Regions from separate parts of the Homo sapiens genome. Here all the other regions are linked to region 4. The links are contacts of gene promoters, found by promoter capture Hi-C in blood cells and fetal thymus (Javierre and others, 2016). All regions are on one chromosome and are shown on one strand. Each heading gives the region's core, a stretch centred on a gene start or on the middle of the fragment in contact. The rest is flanking DNA. Distances are from core to core; before and after follow the strand shown. Region 1 has its middle 74 kb from the start of LHFPL4. Region 2 overlaps IL17RC (interleukin 17 receptor C). Region 3 overlaps LHFPL4 (LHFPL tetraspan subfamily member 4). Region 4 holds the start of RAD18 (RAD18 E3 ubiquitin protein ligase). Region 5 overlaps MTMR14 (myotubularin related protein 14).

Evidence for each region. Contacts are between HindIII fragments. The CHiCAGO score rates a contact against its expected background, and 5 or more counts as called.
Region 1: a fragment that was not itself captured here is called in contact with the fragment with the promoter of RAD18 in region 4 in 2 of 17 cell types (erythroblasts and activated CD4 T cells); the score reaches 5.4 in erythroblasts.
Region 2: a contact is called between a fragment that was not itself captured here and the fragment with the promoter of RAD18 in region 4, in 1 of 17 cell types (neutrophils). The highest score is 5.1, in neutrophils.
Region 3: a contact is called between a fragment that was not itself captured here and the fragment with the promoter of RAD18 in region 4, in 3 of 17 cell types (erythroblasts, total CD8 T cells and M0 macrophages). The highest score is 6.2, in erythroblasts.
Region 5: a contact is called between a fragment that was not itself captured here and the fragment with the promoter of RAD18 in region 4, in 2 of 17 cell types (total CD4 T cells and naive CD8 T cells). The highest score is 5.5, in total CD4 T cells.

Annotation. Positions count from the first base shown.
Region 1 is chr3:9,478,352-9,481,072 of GRCh38, reverse strand. No RefSeq gene overlaps it. Among named protein-coding and RNA genes, the nearest start is that of LHFPL4, 74 kb to the left of the region's middle. The HindIII fragment of the contact is 2,021 bases long and covers 291-2,311 here.
Region 2 is chr3:9,927,646-9,930,461 of GRCh38, reverse strand. It overlaps IL17RC (interleukin 17 receptor C), which reads right to left. Exons shown (of 19, transcript NM_153460.4): 10 at 2,242-2,296; 11 at 1,976-2,157; 12 at 1,832-1,882; 13 at 565-610; 14 at 313-434; 15 at 3-62. Among named protein-coding and RNA genes, the nearest start is that of CRELD1, 4.8 kb to the left of the region's middle. RefSeq lists an enhancer at 1,600-2,099. The HindIII fragment of the contact is 6,275 bases long and covers 1-2,816 here.
Region 3 is chr3:9,496,235-9,498,934 of GRCh38, reverse strand. It overlaps LHFPL4 (LHFPL tetraspan subfamily member 4), which reads left to right. Exons shown (of 4, transcript NM_198560.3): 4 at 1-574. Among named protein-coding and RNA genes, the nearest start is that of LHFPL4, 56 kb to the left of the region's middle. The HindIII fragment of the contact is 1,526 bases long and covers 525-2,050 here.
Region 4 is chr3:8,962,213-8,964,918 of GRCh38, reverse strand. RAD18 (RAD18 E3 ubiquitin protein ligase) reads left to right here and starts at 1,447. Exons shown (of 13, transcript NM_020165.4): 1 at 1,447-1,584. The coding sequence starts at 1,534. RefSeq lists an enhancer at 1,430-1,599. The HindIII fragment of the contact is 5,728 bases long and covers 1-1,907 here.
Region 5 is chr3:9,656,826-9,659,525 of GRCh38, reverse strand. All of the region lies in intron 2 of MTMR14 (myotubularin related protein 14), which reads right to left. Among named protein-coding and RNA genes, the nearest start is that of MTMR14, 8.7 kb to the right of the region's middle. The HindIII fragment of the contact is 1,454 bases long and covers 676-2,129 here.

The DNA of each region.
Region 1 (2,721 bases), core at 52-2,551, 520 kb before region 4:
AGGTAAGTGATTTCTGGTCATAGTGTCACAGCATCTCTAGCTGTTTCTATTTGTTTTCTGGGTTAACTGCAAAATTTCCAAAACTGTTGGTTTGGGTCTGCCACTTAAAAGAGAGAAATCTTGAATAAGTTGTATCTTCTGAACTTATACCTACCTTGCACATTGTTACATGTAAATGAGGTAGCTGATGACTTAAGTGGAGTCCAGGAAAGTGTAAAGTGACATAGAAGGTGCCACTGTTGCACTGGCCTCTTTAATTAATATTGTCTAGCTTCTATTTACACCAAGCTTGTCCAACCCACAGACCACGGGCTGCACGTGGCCCAGGATGGCTTTGAATGCGGCCTAACACAATCATAACTTTCTTAAAATATATATATATTTTTAAGCTCATTAGCTATTGTTAGTGTATTTTACATGTTGAATAATTCTTCCAGTGTGGCCCCGGGAAGCCAAGAAGATTGGACACCTCTGATTTACACCATATCAAAAGCAAAGTCCCTAGCAACACAGTAAGTACTTGAAAAGAATAGCAAATAGGTTAACTCTGAATGGGCAGTTGACTGTCTTACCTTGATATTCTCAGCACCTCAGATATAGCCTAGCACACAGTAGGTGTTCAGCCAATGGTCATGGAACAGAACCTTCCAATTATGGCAGAAATCAGTTAGTTTTATTCATTATCAGAAGCCCAGTGCTATAGCTGAAACACTGTACTAGGTCTCAATTTCTCATCTTTAACTTCTGGCATTTGGCTTGCTTTCTTCACAGAATTATGAGTCAAAATAAGACACTGTATATGGAAACACTTTCTAAAGATCATGCACACTATTCTCTTCCTAACCCAGGTAGAATCAGGTTGTGGTTGGTGGTAGGTTACCTAGGTATTCCTAGGGCATTTTGGAGGGATCTTCTAATAAAACAAGTGGTTTTGTTATGTTTCCACTTTCTATTTTCTTTTGAGACGGAGTCTCGCTCTGTCGCCCAGGCTGGAGTGTAGTGGCACGATCTCGGCTCACTGCAACCTCTGCCTCCTGGGTTCAAGCGATTCTCCTGCCCCAGCCTCCCAAGGAGCTGGGATTACAGGCACGCACCACCACGCCCGGCTAATTTTTGTATTTTTAGTAGAGACAGGGTTTCACCATGTTGTTCAGGCTGGTCTCAAACTCCTGATCTTGTGATCCGCCTGCCTTGGCCCCCCAAAGTGCTGGGATTACAGGCATGAGCCACCACGCCCAGCCTTCCATTTCTAAACTCCTTCAACTAATAAATAGCATCTTCATCTTTGAATCCCTTATGTGCTTTGCAAACTGCAGTCTACCTTAGTTACTCAGTAAACATTTGTCAAACAAATGTTAGAATACTGCCAATTCAATCCATTGGCAAGTTCTGCTGTGTACTTGCAAAACATATCCTGACTCCAATCACTTCTTATCCCCATCATTACCGTCTTAATAGAAGCCACCACTGCATTGTTGCTTGCCTGAACAACTGCTCTACCTTCCACACCAGTTTCTCAGCTCCTATTCATCTCTTCACCAACAGGATCAAAACAATCAGAGTAATTTTTAAAAATCAACCAAATATAAATTAGACAATGTCACTTCTCTCCTTAAAATCCTGCAATGACTCCTCCACTGTACTTACTGAATGCAGATTATTTAAATTATACCTACAAGGTTCTACATTAGAGACCAGCAAACTACAGCCTGCAAACCAAATCCAACTTGCCACTTGTTTCCTGTAAATAAAGTTTTATTGGAACATAGCCACATACTGTCTATGCCTGCTTTTGCACTGCAATGGAAGAGCTGAATAGTTGTTTTTTTTTTTTTTTTTTTTTTTTTTTTTGAGACAGAGTCTCGCTCCATCACCCAGGCTGGAGTGCAGTGGAGTGACCTTGGTTCACTATAACCTCCTCCTCCCAGGTTCAAGAGATTCTCCTGCCTCAGCCTCCTGAGTAGCTGGGATTACAGGTGCGCACCACCACACCTGGTTAATTTTTGTATTTTTAGTAGACAGGGTTTTGCCATGTTGGCCAGGCTGGTCTCGAACTTCTGACCTCAAGTGATCTGCTCTCTTGGGCCTCCCAAAGTGCTGGAATTACAGGCATGATTCGCACCCAGCCAAAGGGCTGAATAGTTATGACAGAGACCATACATGGCTTGCAAAGTCTAAATATTTACTATCTGGCCCTTTATAGAAAGAGTTTGCCGACTCCTGCTCTACATGATCTGTCCCCTATCTCCCTCTTACAGGATCTTCTATCCTCTTTCCCAGCCCCATCCATTTATTACATCTTAACCAAGCTTTTTCTACCACAGAGTCTGCAACGTTCAAGAATGAATTTCACTCACATCGTCCCAGGACTGCCTCCTTGTCACTGAAGTCTCAGTTTAAATGTCAACTCCTCAGAGACTTTTCTTGACCAACCAATCTAGAGTGGCTCCTTCAACTGTCTTAGTCACATATCTGCTATGAAACAATTAACATGGCAATGACTATTTAAAATTATATACTAGTTTAGTTCTCTCCTCCACTAGAATGTAAACTCCATGAAAGAAGAGACCTTACTTTGCCCACCCCCAATCAGCATTCTAATCACCATAAGCCCAGCACCAAAAACAATGTCCAGCATTGTTTTTGAATGAAAAAGACCAATAAATAGTTGCTGAATGAATGAGGCCAAGGTCAGGAACACCACTCAAGTTCAAGGCAGTT
Region 2 (2,816 bases), core at 314-2,813, 970 kb before region 4:
ACCTGCAGACACTGGCCTGACTGCAGGTCTTGTAGTAAGTACTCTCCAAGGCGAGCTGCCCTCTGCCAAGCCAAAGGATGGGGGCACTGTTACCTGGAGGTAGCACCCTTAGGGCAGCACCTACCAGGCTACAGCTGGGTAGAATGAGGTAGAGGGGACTGGGAGACTTTGGTGATGCCGCTGAATATGGCCCTGGTCTGAGTCACCCCCCATGTTCCCAGAGACCGGCACAGGGTGGATGGAGTGAAAATTTGAGGCCAGATGTGAGATGCATTTGGAGAGATCTGTGGAGGAGGGTCGCCCAGTCCTAACCGTGGAGGCTTTGCTGGGTAGTGAAGTACAGCCACTGGGTTCCAAGGCACAGAGGGATCTGTTGTCCTGGGGGCCTCGTGTCTCCAACAGTAGCACATCGTCTTTGAGAGGCCCCAGGGAGTCTGGAAGGGGTGAGAGGCCACTCTGACCAAGACCCATCCTTGCTGGGATTGGCCACTTGCCTGCCTCCCATGCCCTGACCTTCACCCCTAGGAGGTGGCCCTGCCCCAGCTGCCCCCAGGCCCAACTCACCAGCCCACAAGCACTCCTGCAGCTGCAGCTTCTCCGAGCTGTTCACCTGCTGGGAAGAGACCATGGTTAGGGCCACTAAGAAAAGCAAAAGCCAAAGGCAGAAAGACCAGAATGGGGCAGGCAACAGAAGGCCTGTTGGGTTGGGAATCTGCACTCAATCTGACCTGAGGCAGATGTGGATTCAAGGCTGGGTGATTAGGAATCACTACATCTTTCTCTGCCCCAGCCTTGTGAGATCATCTGTATAAAGCGTCTTCTGACCCTAAAGCTGTTTTTATGTCTTACGGAGCATGGTTCCCCTCTCATCTAACCTTCTCAAAGAGATTCCTTTCTCACATGACCACCCTGCTAAAAATTGCAACCCCAGTCCCACCTTATCCCTTTCCCATGGTATTTGTATGCAATTTTAAGATACTATATGATTTATTTACAATGTCTGTTGCCTGCCTTTCTCCATTACAATATAAGTTCTATGAGGGTAGAGATGTTAGGGTCTATCACAAGTGCCTAAAACAGTGACTTGTGCTGCTCAAAAAATCTTGAATGAGTGAATTTTTTTTTTTTTTGAGACGGAGTTTCACTCTGTCGCCCAGTCTCACTCTGTCACCCAGGCTGGAGTGCAGTGGCGCCCTCTCAGCTCACTGCAAGCTCAGCCTCCCAGGTTCACGCCATTCTCCTGCCCCAGCCTTCCTAGTAGCTGGGACTACAGGTGCCCACCACCACGACCGGCTAATTTTTTGTATTTTTAGTAGAGATGGGGTTTCACCATGTTAGCCAGGATGGTCTTGATGTCCTGACCTCGTGATCTGCCCGCCTCGGCCTCCCAAAGTGCTGGGATTACAGGCGTGAGCCACCGCGCCTGGCCGGATGAGTGAATGTTCTTATAATCACCCTTTGAAACTGTAGAGCAACCCATTCTACAGGTATGGAAATAGAATAAGGATAGCAATAATAAAAGTGGCTACATTTATGGAGCATTTAGTCTGTACCGATTCCTAAGGGGAAGCACTTCTCTTATTTCATTGTCACAACCACTCCATGAGGTAGTTACTGTATTATCATCTGCATTAAACAGATGAGGAAACTGACGTTCAGAGAGGTGAAGTGAGTTGCCCAGGGTCCCGCGCACTACTAAAGTAGGCAGTGGAACTCCCATAGAGGAAGCTGGCAACCACTATGCTTTAGCGGCCCAAGAACTAAGACCCCCTTGGCTGGGGGGTCTGCCCAGGTCCAGCCTCCAGCCCAGCACTATGCACCCCTTTCTGACCTGAACACAGAGGTTAGGGTGGCCTTTCAGCAATGGGAACTCGAGAACCTTCTGTGGAAAGAGAGGAATGGGTGGGATCACAAAAGGGGACCCCCGGTTCCCCACTCTCCCCTCACCACGGGAGGTGCCCTCTGCTTCACTTACGTCCACAGTGACGTTCTCCCAGGAAAGCGGTGGGACCAGTGGCTGGCAGGGGTCCCCACCCGGAGCCCGCCAGCACAGTGCCGCTTCTGCGGGCAGCGAGCACGGTGCGTCCAGCAGCCAGCTCTGCAGGGTCAGCAGTTGCAGTCGGGCGGCTTGCCAGAGGTTCTGGTGTGCGCGGGGGTCTGCAAGGAAAGGGCACAGTCACCGCAGGCCAGGTACCCATCGCTCGCAACACCCCAACCCCAGCCCCAGGCCGGTCGGCTCACCCTCCCTGAAGGGGCAGATGTTCGTCCTAACGGAGTCAGGTTCCAGAGGCCACACCTGGAAAGGAAATGGGGGTCTGCTCAGGTCCCCTCCATGGGCATGTGCCTGGCCCTCTGCTGGACAGTGGGGATGCACTCATTCAGCAGGTATTTCACAAACACTTGCTGGGTCTTCCTGCCTTTTACAAAACCTGGAGGTGCTCACATCTATTCTTCCAGCAAACATAATGCTGGGCACTGGCAACATCTTCATTAACAAACTTTTTTTTTTTTTTGAGATAGAGTCTCGCTCTGTCGCCCAGGCTGGAGTGCAGTGGTGCAATCTTGGCTCACTACAACCTCCACCTCCCAGGTTCAAGCGATTCTCCCATCTCAGTCTCCTGAGGAGCTGCGATTACAGGAACATGCCACAACGGCCGGCTAACTGGTTAATTTTTGTATTTTTAGTAGAGATGGGGTTTCACCACATTGATCAGGCTGGTCTCGAACTCCTGACCTCAAGTGATCCACCCGTCTCAGCCTCCCAAAGTGTTGGGATTACAAGCGTGAGCCACCGCGCCTGGCCCATTCAACAGACT
Region 3 (2,700 bases), core at 38-2,537, 530 kb before region 4:
GGGCTATGAAAACTTTCGTCTTTGGGGACCGGTACCCATGAAGGAAAACTTTCCTGAGGGGGTGAGGACCAAAGAATCAAGATCCTTTTCAGGCCTGATAGCCAAGATGATGAGAACTTTTAGATAAGGCTGTGGGGAGAGTCCCTGGCCTTTTGAGCATCCTGCTTGGGCACACGGGGAATAACCTTTCTCCAGCTTCCAGTGTGAACTGAGAAAGAGAAAGGGAAACCCTGTCTTTGGAGAAGCTGGGATGTTCCCAGCACCAGAAACTTCTGCAGGCCCCTGCCTGGCCCACGGCTAACCTTTGGGTGGGACTGGAGTTTCCTGAACAGGGAACAAGGGAGCCTTCCGCAGAGCTCTGATGGGCAGGCCTCCGAGGGCCTGTGCTGTGTGCTGTTAGGATAGCTTGGTGTTGTCTATACCCCATTAGTAAGTTTTGTCTGAGTGTGTCCTCGCTGTTCATTGTCTAATTTGGTAACATTTATTTTGGTCCTGACCCCTTCTGCTGCTGCTGGGTTTAAGCTTCAGTGCAGGTGGAATGACATTCAAATAAAGAAACACTTTCTATCACCCACGCTGGCTGCCACTTCTCTGAGTCACTGGGATCAAGAGGGGTAAGATTCCAACCCTATGGATCAGGTTTGTCTGGTATTAACAGAACCCTACTACTGTGGCTTAACAAGATAGTTTATTTTACCATCACATTAAAAAAAAAAAAAAAAAAAAAAAAAGCCTGGAGGTGGGTAGATCACGGCTGATATGGCTCTCAGTGTTATCCAGAACCCAGGCTCCTATCTTTCTGCACTGCCATTTTCAATCCTGGCTACATCCTCAAGAACACCTCATGGCCCAACGTGGGCTGCTGGAGCTCCAGTCACCTGGTCCACATTTCATTTGAAGACTTCTGGAAATTCCATAGGACTGTGTCACTTGGGCCACATAACAGTAAAGGAGGCTGAAAAAGTGTGGTCTGTTATCTCGGCGCATTGCCAGCCCAAATAAAACTGGGGTTCTTGGCCGGGCAAGGTGGCTCATGCCTGTAATCCCAGCATTTTCAGAGGCTGAGGTGGGTGGATCACCTGAGGTCAGGAGTTTGAGACCAGCCTGGTCAACATGGCAAAACCCTGTCTCTACTAAAAATACAAAAATTAGCCAGGCATGGTGGTGCGTGCCTGTAATCCCAGATACTCAGGAGGCTGAGGCAGGAGAATTGCTTGAACCCAGGAGGCGGAGGTCGCAGGGAGGTGGGATGGCGCCATTGCACTCCAGCCTGGGCAACAGAGCAAGACTCCGTCTCAAAAAAAAAAAAAAATAGGGTTCTGATACAAAGGAGAAAGGAGTGAATAGAGAGAGGGATACAGTAATCTCTGCACACCTCTGACAGCACAGGCACGACTTGTCCAAGTCCATACAGGCAGAAAAGAGTAGAGCCTCATCTGCTCTAGCCAGAGTGCTCAGTCCAGTCACTTTGCCTCTCTCTAAAGCCCCATTGAATAAATAGAGAAAACAATAGTGACTCCCCCAAGGGAAGCTGTAAGCAACATACCAGGGAATATATGCACTTTGCTCTGCAGGGTATCTGGCACGCTGTAATGTGCGCAGTACCAGGTAGCTACATTGAAGACTTGGAAATGGAGTCCTCTTCCAACACATTTTAAGCACTTAGTGTATGCTAAGCACTTAAGCTAGAAAAAAAATGAGCAAAACAGAGATGCTGTCTTAAGCATAATTCTGGTTGGGGAGATGAACATGTGAAAATAACGCATGACTTGCCACATGCAGGGTATTGTGGGTATCCTAGGCAGGAATACTTTAAATGGCTTTTGGTGACGTGGGCAGCGTAGGAGGAGGTCTTGCTGTAGGATGAGAAGTTAGGCAGGAGGGGTCAGGAAGGTCAAAGAGAAGGCAGCTTGAGGAAAAAGACTGAGGTAGGCAGCAGAACTGTGTATGGAGGACGAAAAGCAACTTAGTTTGAAATGTGAAGTACGAGGCAGGGAGGAGTCAGAGATGAGTCTAGAGAGACAGGCGAGGGCCAGACCATGAGAAAGCTTGGGGGCCATGGACAGGAGTTTGGACTTAAGAGCAATGGGGAACCACTGAAGGATTTGAAGCAGAAGGAAAAATGACTCAATTTGCATTTTAGAAAGAGCACTCTGGTGGTAGCATTAGGGGGCTGGATTAGGGGTAGACTGTTAGCCCATTTCTGCATTGTTATAAAGCCATACCTGAGACTGCATCATTTGTTTTATTTATTTATTTTGAGATGGAGTCTCCCTCTGTTGCCCAGGCTGCAGTGCAGTGGCACAATCTCAGCTCACTGCAACCTCAGCCTCCCTGATTCAAGTGATTCTCCTGCCTCAGCCTCCTGAGTAGCTGAGATTACAGGTGTGCACCACCACACCCGGCTAATTTTTGTATTTTTAGTAGACATGGGATTTCACCATGTTGGCCAGGCTGGTCTCAAACTCCGGGTCTCAAGTGATCCACCCGCCTCAGCCTCCCAAAGTGCTGGGATTGCAGGCATAAGCCACTGCACCTGGCCTGCATAATTTATTTTTATTTTTTTGAGACAGGGTCTTGCTCTGTCACCCAGGCTGGAGTGCAGTGGTGAGATCACAGTTCACTGTAGCCTCAACTCCCAGGCTCAAGCAATCCTCCCACCTCATTCTCCCAGGTAGCTGGGACCATAGGCACCACCAT
Region 4 (2,706 bases), core at 198-2,697:
CTCCTTCCAAATCTGTCTCCATGGTTGAATGCAAAAAGTACATTCCTGTCCCTGTCTTTTCTCTCTCTCCCTTTCTCCTTACCCATTCTTTCTCTTTTTTCTCATCTCCTCTCTCTTCCTCTCTCACCTTCCCAGCCATTTGTCACCTTAAACCTAATTACCTTGTCCAACTAGTAGTGTGAAAAAAACAATTACTGGTTCACTCAGGCCACGGACCTGGTCTTAAATGCTTTTCCTTTGTCTCTCCAAGACCCCACTTCCTCCACATCCAGAACTATCCGACATTTTCCAGCTCAGCCTGGCATTCATTTGCGTTCATTTGCATGCCGTTCTATGATTGGCTGATACAAAGTGGGGGGCGGGGGTGGACACCGTAAACCTCCATTCCTCATGCATTTAATATAACATGTATGAAAAAAAGTATCTATATTTATATCTCGTTTAAGAAAAAAATTGTTCAATGATACTTGTTAAAGCACAATAAGGAAGACTTAATCAGGACAATTCAAGTAGGTATAGAGACCACTGGAACTGTGTCTTGCAATTGGTGAAAACTGGGCTCAACTCTGAATACAACATGGGCAAATGGAAATTTATAGCCAGGAAGCAGGGTGGGGAGCAGTGCATGAAAAATTACTAAGAGGAAACATCAGAGGTAACAGTAGATTCTTGCTGAAGAGGCCAGGGTGATCAGACATCAACTGGGGGATGGTGGAGGATGAGGAACACATCAGATATCAAGAGTGATCACATATCAAAGGTGGGGATTCTTGGTAACTTGATTTAGCAGGGTTTTTTGCTAAAACTGGATTTTTACAGGAAGTACACAGATTGGCCTAGGAGAAGGTTCAGGAGCCTGACTAAAGTTTGCTCAAGCAAAGAATCTTCGTCAATCTGCATAGGAAATATCTAGAAGGCTATATGCCAAAGTTAATGGTGCTTCTCTCCGAAGAAAAAGAAAAACCGTGCATTAAAATTTTAATATGAATAAAAGCAACAGCTCCCATTTAAAGCCCAGAGGTCCTGTTTGGAATCTGACTCGAAACTCTATCCACTTTTTCGGGCGTAGGCTTCTCTTGTGTAAACTGACAATGATAACATCTACCTCCCAGTGTTGTGATACGGGAGACATAAAGTAATGGATATAAAAACTTCTGTTCAGAGCAAGGACGGATAGTCACTGCGATTAGGGTGGGCGACCCGGAGGGGGGTCATGAGCCTGGACCTTGACAGATCTGGTGAGGTCTGGATTTGGTTTGATTCCTGGCTATCTTTTCTTAATATTCAACTGGCTCTACGCTTTTTAACCATTCACTTTCTTCAAGGTAAGTGCGGCAGAAGCCTGGCGCATGCGCAGTACAAGCCCTTAAGCGGCGCCCCGCCCACATACTACTACAACTTCCGGCAGGCTCCGCGCCCGCCTCTGGCGCGTCGCGGGCTGCTGACGTAATGCGGTAGCGCGGGGAATTTCGAGTGGTGTTGGAGCGCCGGAGGCTAGTGGGTGGCTGACCCCCAGCATCCTCGGGAGCGACCATGGACTCCCTGGCCGAGTCTCGGTGGCCTCCGGGCCTGGCAGTCATGAAGGTGAGTGCTTCGGGGAGTTTGGGAGCTCCCGGGTGTCTGCGGGGGGAGGTCCCTCCCTTTGAGGAGGATGTCCTCGCCTTAAGGAGAAAGGATGAGGCGCGAGCGTCGCACTGGGCCCGGGTATCCGGCTCTGCCCTGCCACTAGCCGACCGCGTGGCTCTGGGTCTCAGTTTACTCCTCTGATAAGTGACAAGGACAAGCCTGGTGAGCTGAGGTTGGCAGTCTTATGGCACCAGCTATTCTGCGATCCAATCCCAACAATAACATGGAGAAAAACAGTTATTCCAAACAATGACATCGACAGCTGTTCTTTACTGAAAGCTTACTTTGTGTCAAGCACTAAACAGTGACACCGGACATGATTTTGGGTGGACACTTTATCAGATAACATGTATGTAATCACGTAGCCAAGCAGGTAGTCTCCTTTACAGGCTCTTTCATTTCTTCTGATTATTCTCAATAAACGTAGTGCTCGTTTGTTCTGACATACTGCCCCAACTCCTCTCTAACACACCTTCACTCTTCTCTAACAATTGCTCATGTCTCTTAAACAGAGATCAGGACTCAGGCTCAGCGCTGATCTTGCATTGCGTCTGATTATTTCACTTAAATAACATTTATTTTTGTGGCCACTTTCTGTTTTGGCAAGGCATACCAGTTTCCATTTACAGTAGTGGTGGGCCCTGGATTTGCTCAAGAGCAGATGCACTTTGCTGTGCTGGATAAAGATCAGTTGCTTGGTGTTTCTTCTTGCTCTGTGATTATTTCCGTTTCTCACAGTGGCTAAGATAGCCTTCTTCTCCCTCAGTTTTGTAGACTTGGGGATTATAATACCTGTCCCACTGACTCATAAATTTGACTTTAGAATTAAGTGAAGGCTAAAGTAAGTAGAAGGCCTTGTTCTTCCTGCTGTCATCAGTGACGTCTAGAGTGCTTGGGGACTTGAGATATCTGCATGATGAGAAGCTGACATTGTGAAATGATCCAGGAAAGCTGTAGTTTTGGAGTTGTGGGCTTGGCACCAGGATGCAGTGGAGAAGAGCACAGATTTGAGTTCCAGTGGTCCTGGGTGAAATCTCCTGTCTGCCTCTTGACTGTATGACCTTCGGTTAGTAACTTAAC
Region 5 (2,700 bases), core at 153-2,652, 690 kb before region 4:
GTTGCGGTGAGCAGAGATCACGCCACTGCACTCCAGCCTGGGCAACAGAATGAGACTCCGTCTTAAAAAAAAAAAAAAAAAGAACCAATTCAGTTTCTGTTCTCTCACTTTTTCCTGTTTTTATTATCTCTTGTCCTTAGGATTCTTTTATTGCAGTGCTAAGCACTGAGCTGTGTCTGGCACATAATACTCACATTCGAAGGGATGAATGTAGGCTTCTGTATTTACATTTGTAATGTATGCACTGAAATTTCTGGCAAGATGTTACCAGGTAGTGAGATTTTGTTGTTTTTTTCCCAACAAGGTCTTCCTCTGTTGCCCAGGCTGCAGTGCAGTGGCGCCATGGTTCACTGCAGCTGACCTCCTGGGCTCAGGTGATCCTCCCACCTCAGACTCCCAGGTAGCTGGGACTACAGGCACATGCCACGATGCTTGGCTAATGCTTTGTATTTTTTGTAGTGACAAGGTGTCACCATGTTGCCCAGACTGTTTAATTCAGTCTGTTTTTTATTCAGTCTATTCAGTTTAATTCAGTCTCAAACTCCTGGGTTCAAGCGAAACGCCCATCTCGGCCTCCCAAGTAACTAGGATTATAGGCGTGAGCCACCATGCCCAGCCAAACTATTTTCAAATACAGAAGAAAATGCTGTTATCACATATTTCCAATAGGAAGCTTTCCCAGACAGGCACCACACTTACCAAACTGGGTGGCTTGTTCCTATAATGTACCCCACAACTTCCTGAGATAAATGTTACTGCTGCTACTATTTAATAGATAAGAGGCACAAAGTAGAGCTTACACCCACATTATCTCACTCAGTCCTCACTTACCCAATTTTACAGATGAGGTAGTTTAATGAGATGAAATCTCTAGCCCAAAGTCACAGAACAGGTAAACAGGGTAGCTGAGATTCTAAACCCTGTGGGTAGCCACTGGGCCCATGGTTTTAACCACTATCCGGCAGGGCCTCACCTGTACTTCCCCTAATTCCAGCTTTTATTAACAATTATTGCTTCTTTATTGGACTCTGTTTCCCACTAGACCTACTGGTAAGGACTTCATCTATCTGGCTTCCAACTTGATCCCTGAGGTCTACTACACAGCAGCAGCTGAACGAACACTGTTGACAAACATGTCTTAGCTATTCAGAGATCCCTGTCCAGGCTTCTATTCCCAGATGATGAACCAAATTGGAGAGGTTCCTTAACAGGACCAAAACATTGCTTAAATCCAATTCTACCCTGTTTAATTCAGTCTATTTTTTATTCAGTCTATTCAGTTTAATTCAGCATCATAGTAACAGCCAAGCCAGACAGTAAAAAAGCAAAAAATGCTATTTCTTCCCACCCAAACATACCCGAAGTCCCCCCTTTCAACAAGCAGGCATCACCCACTCAACATCACTTCAGTAACACTTTAAGGCCTTGCAAGGAGTGAAAAGTAAAAACAAACTCCAACAAGCTCCTCTAAGGTTAATCATGTTCCACAGTGGCCTTGGCCTAACTGTGAGGTTCTGCTAGACAAGGTGGGAGAGCCGTGGTGGTGAAAGATAAGGCAGACAGGTACAGAGTCAGGAAATACAGCTTTTAACCCCACTCTGCTTACTACCTCTGTGATCTTCGGCAAAGGCAAATTACTTCTCTGGGCTTCAACTTCATCTATAAAAGAGTGGTGAGGGCCAGGCGCGGTGGCTCATACCTGTAATCCCAGCACTTTGGGAGGCCGAGACCAGTGGATCACGAGGTCAGGAGTTCAAGACCAGCCTGGCCAAGATGTTGAAACCCCGTCTTTACTAAAAATACAAAAATTGGCCGGGCATGGTGGCACGCGCCTGTAATCCCAGCTACTAGGGAGGCTGAGGCAGGAGAATCACTTGAACCTGAGCGGCAGAGGTTGCAGTGAGCCAAGATCACTTGCGCCACTGCACTCCAGCCTCAGCGACACAGCAAGACTCCATATCAAATTGAAAAAAAAAAAGAGTGGTGATACTGTCTTCTTCACTGAATAGTTGTAGGGCTTAAGCTAGCAAGTAAAACCTCAACACCTGCCAAACAGAGGTACTCAACAAATACTAGTTTCAGTCTCTTTAAGGGATCAACACTAAACTTGTTTCCTTCCAGGAAAAGCTTTTACAAGGCAACCACCACTACGTTTCTCAATGTACTATTATGTTACTGAAGGGTAACATTTGGTATTACCTGAGAGCTTGTTAGAATATGCCAAATCGCAGGCCCACCTCAGGTCTTCTGAATCTCTGCATTGTAGAAAGATCCCCAGTTGATTCACTCATAAAATCAACATAGAAAAGAACCACTCTGTTGGGTGCGGTGGCTCTCACCTCTAATCCCAACACTTTGAAAGGCCGAGGTGAGGAAATCTGTTGAGCTCAGGAGACCCACCTGGGCAATGCAGCGAGACCTGGTCTCTACTAAAAATTAAAAAAAATCAGCTGGGAGTGGTGGTATGTGCCCATATTCCCAGCTACTTGGGAGGCTGAGGTGGGAGAATCACTTGAGCCCAGGGGATCAAGGCCGCAGCAAGCCATGATTGTGCCACTGCATTCCAGACCCCGTCTTAATTAAAAACAAAAACAAAAACAAAAAAACCCACCTTGATTACAGCTGAGCTTAATATCAGAATGTCATCATCAGGGCACAGAGGTAAAACCACCAGCCAGCCAGCACCAAAGAGGGTAGGAA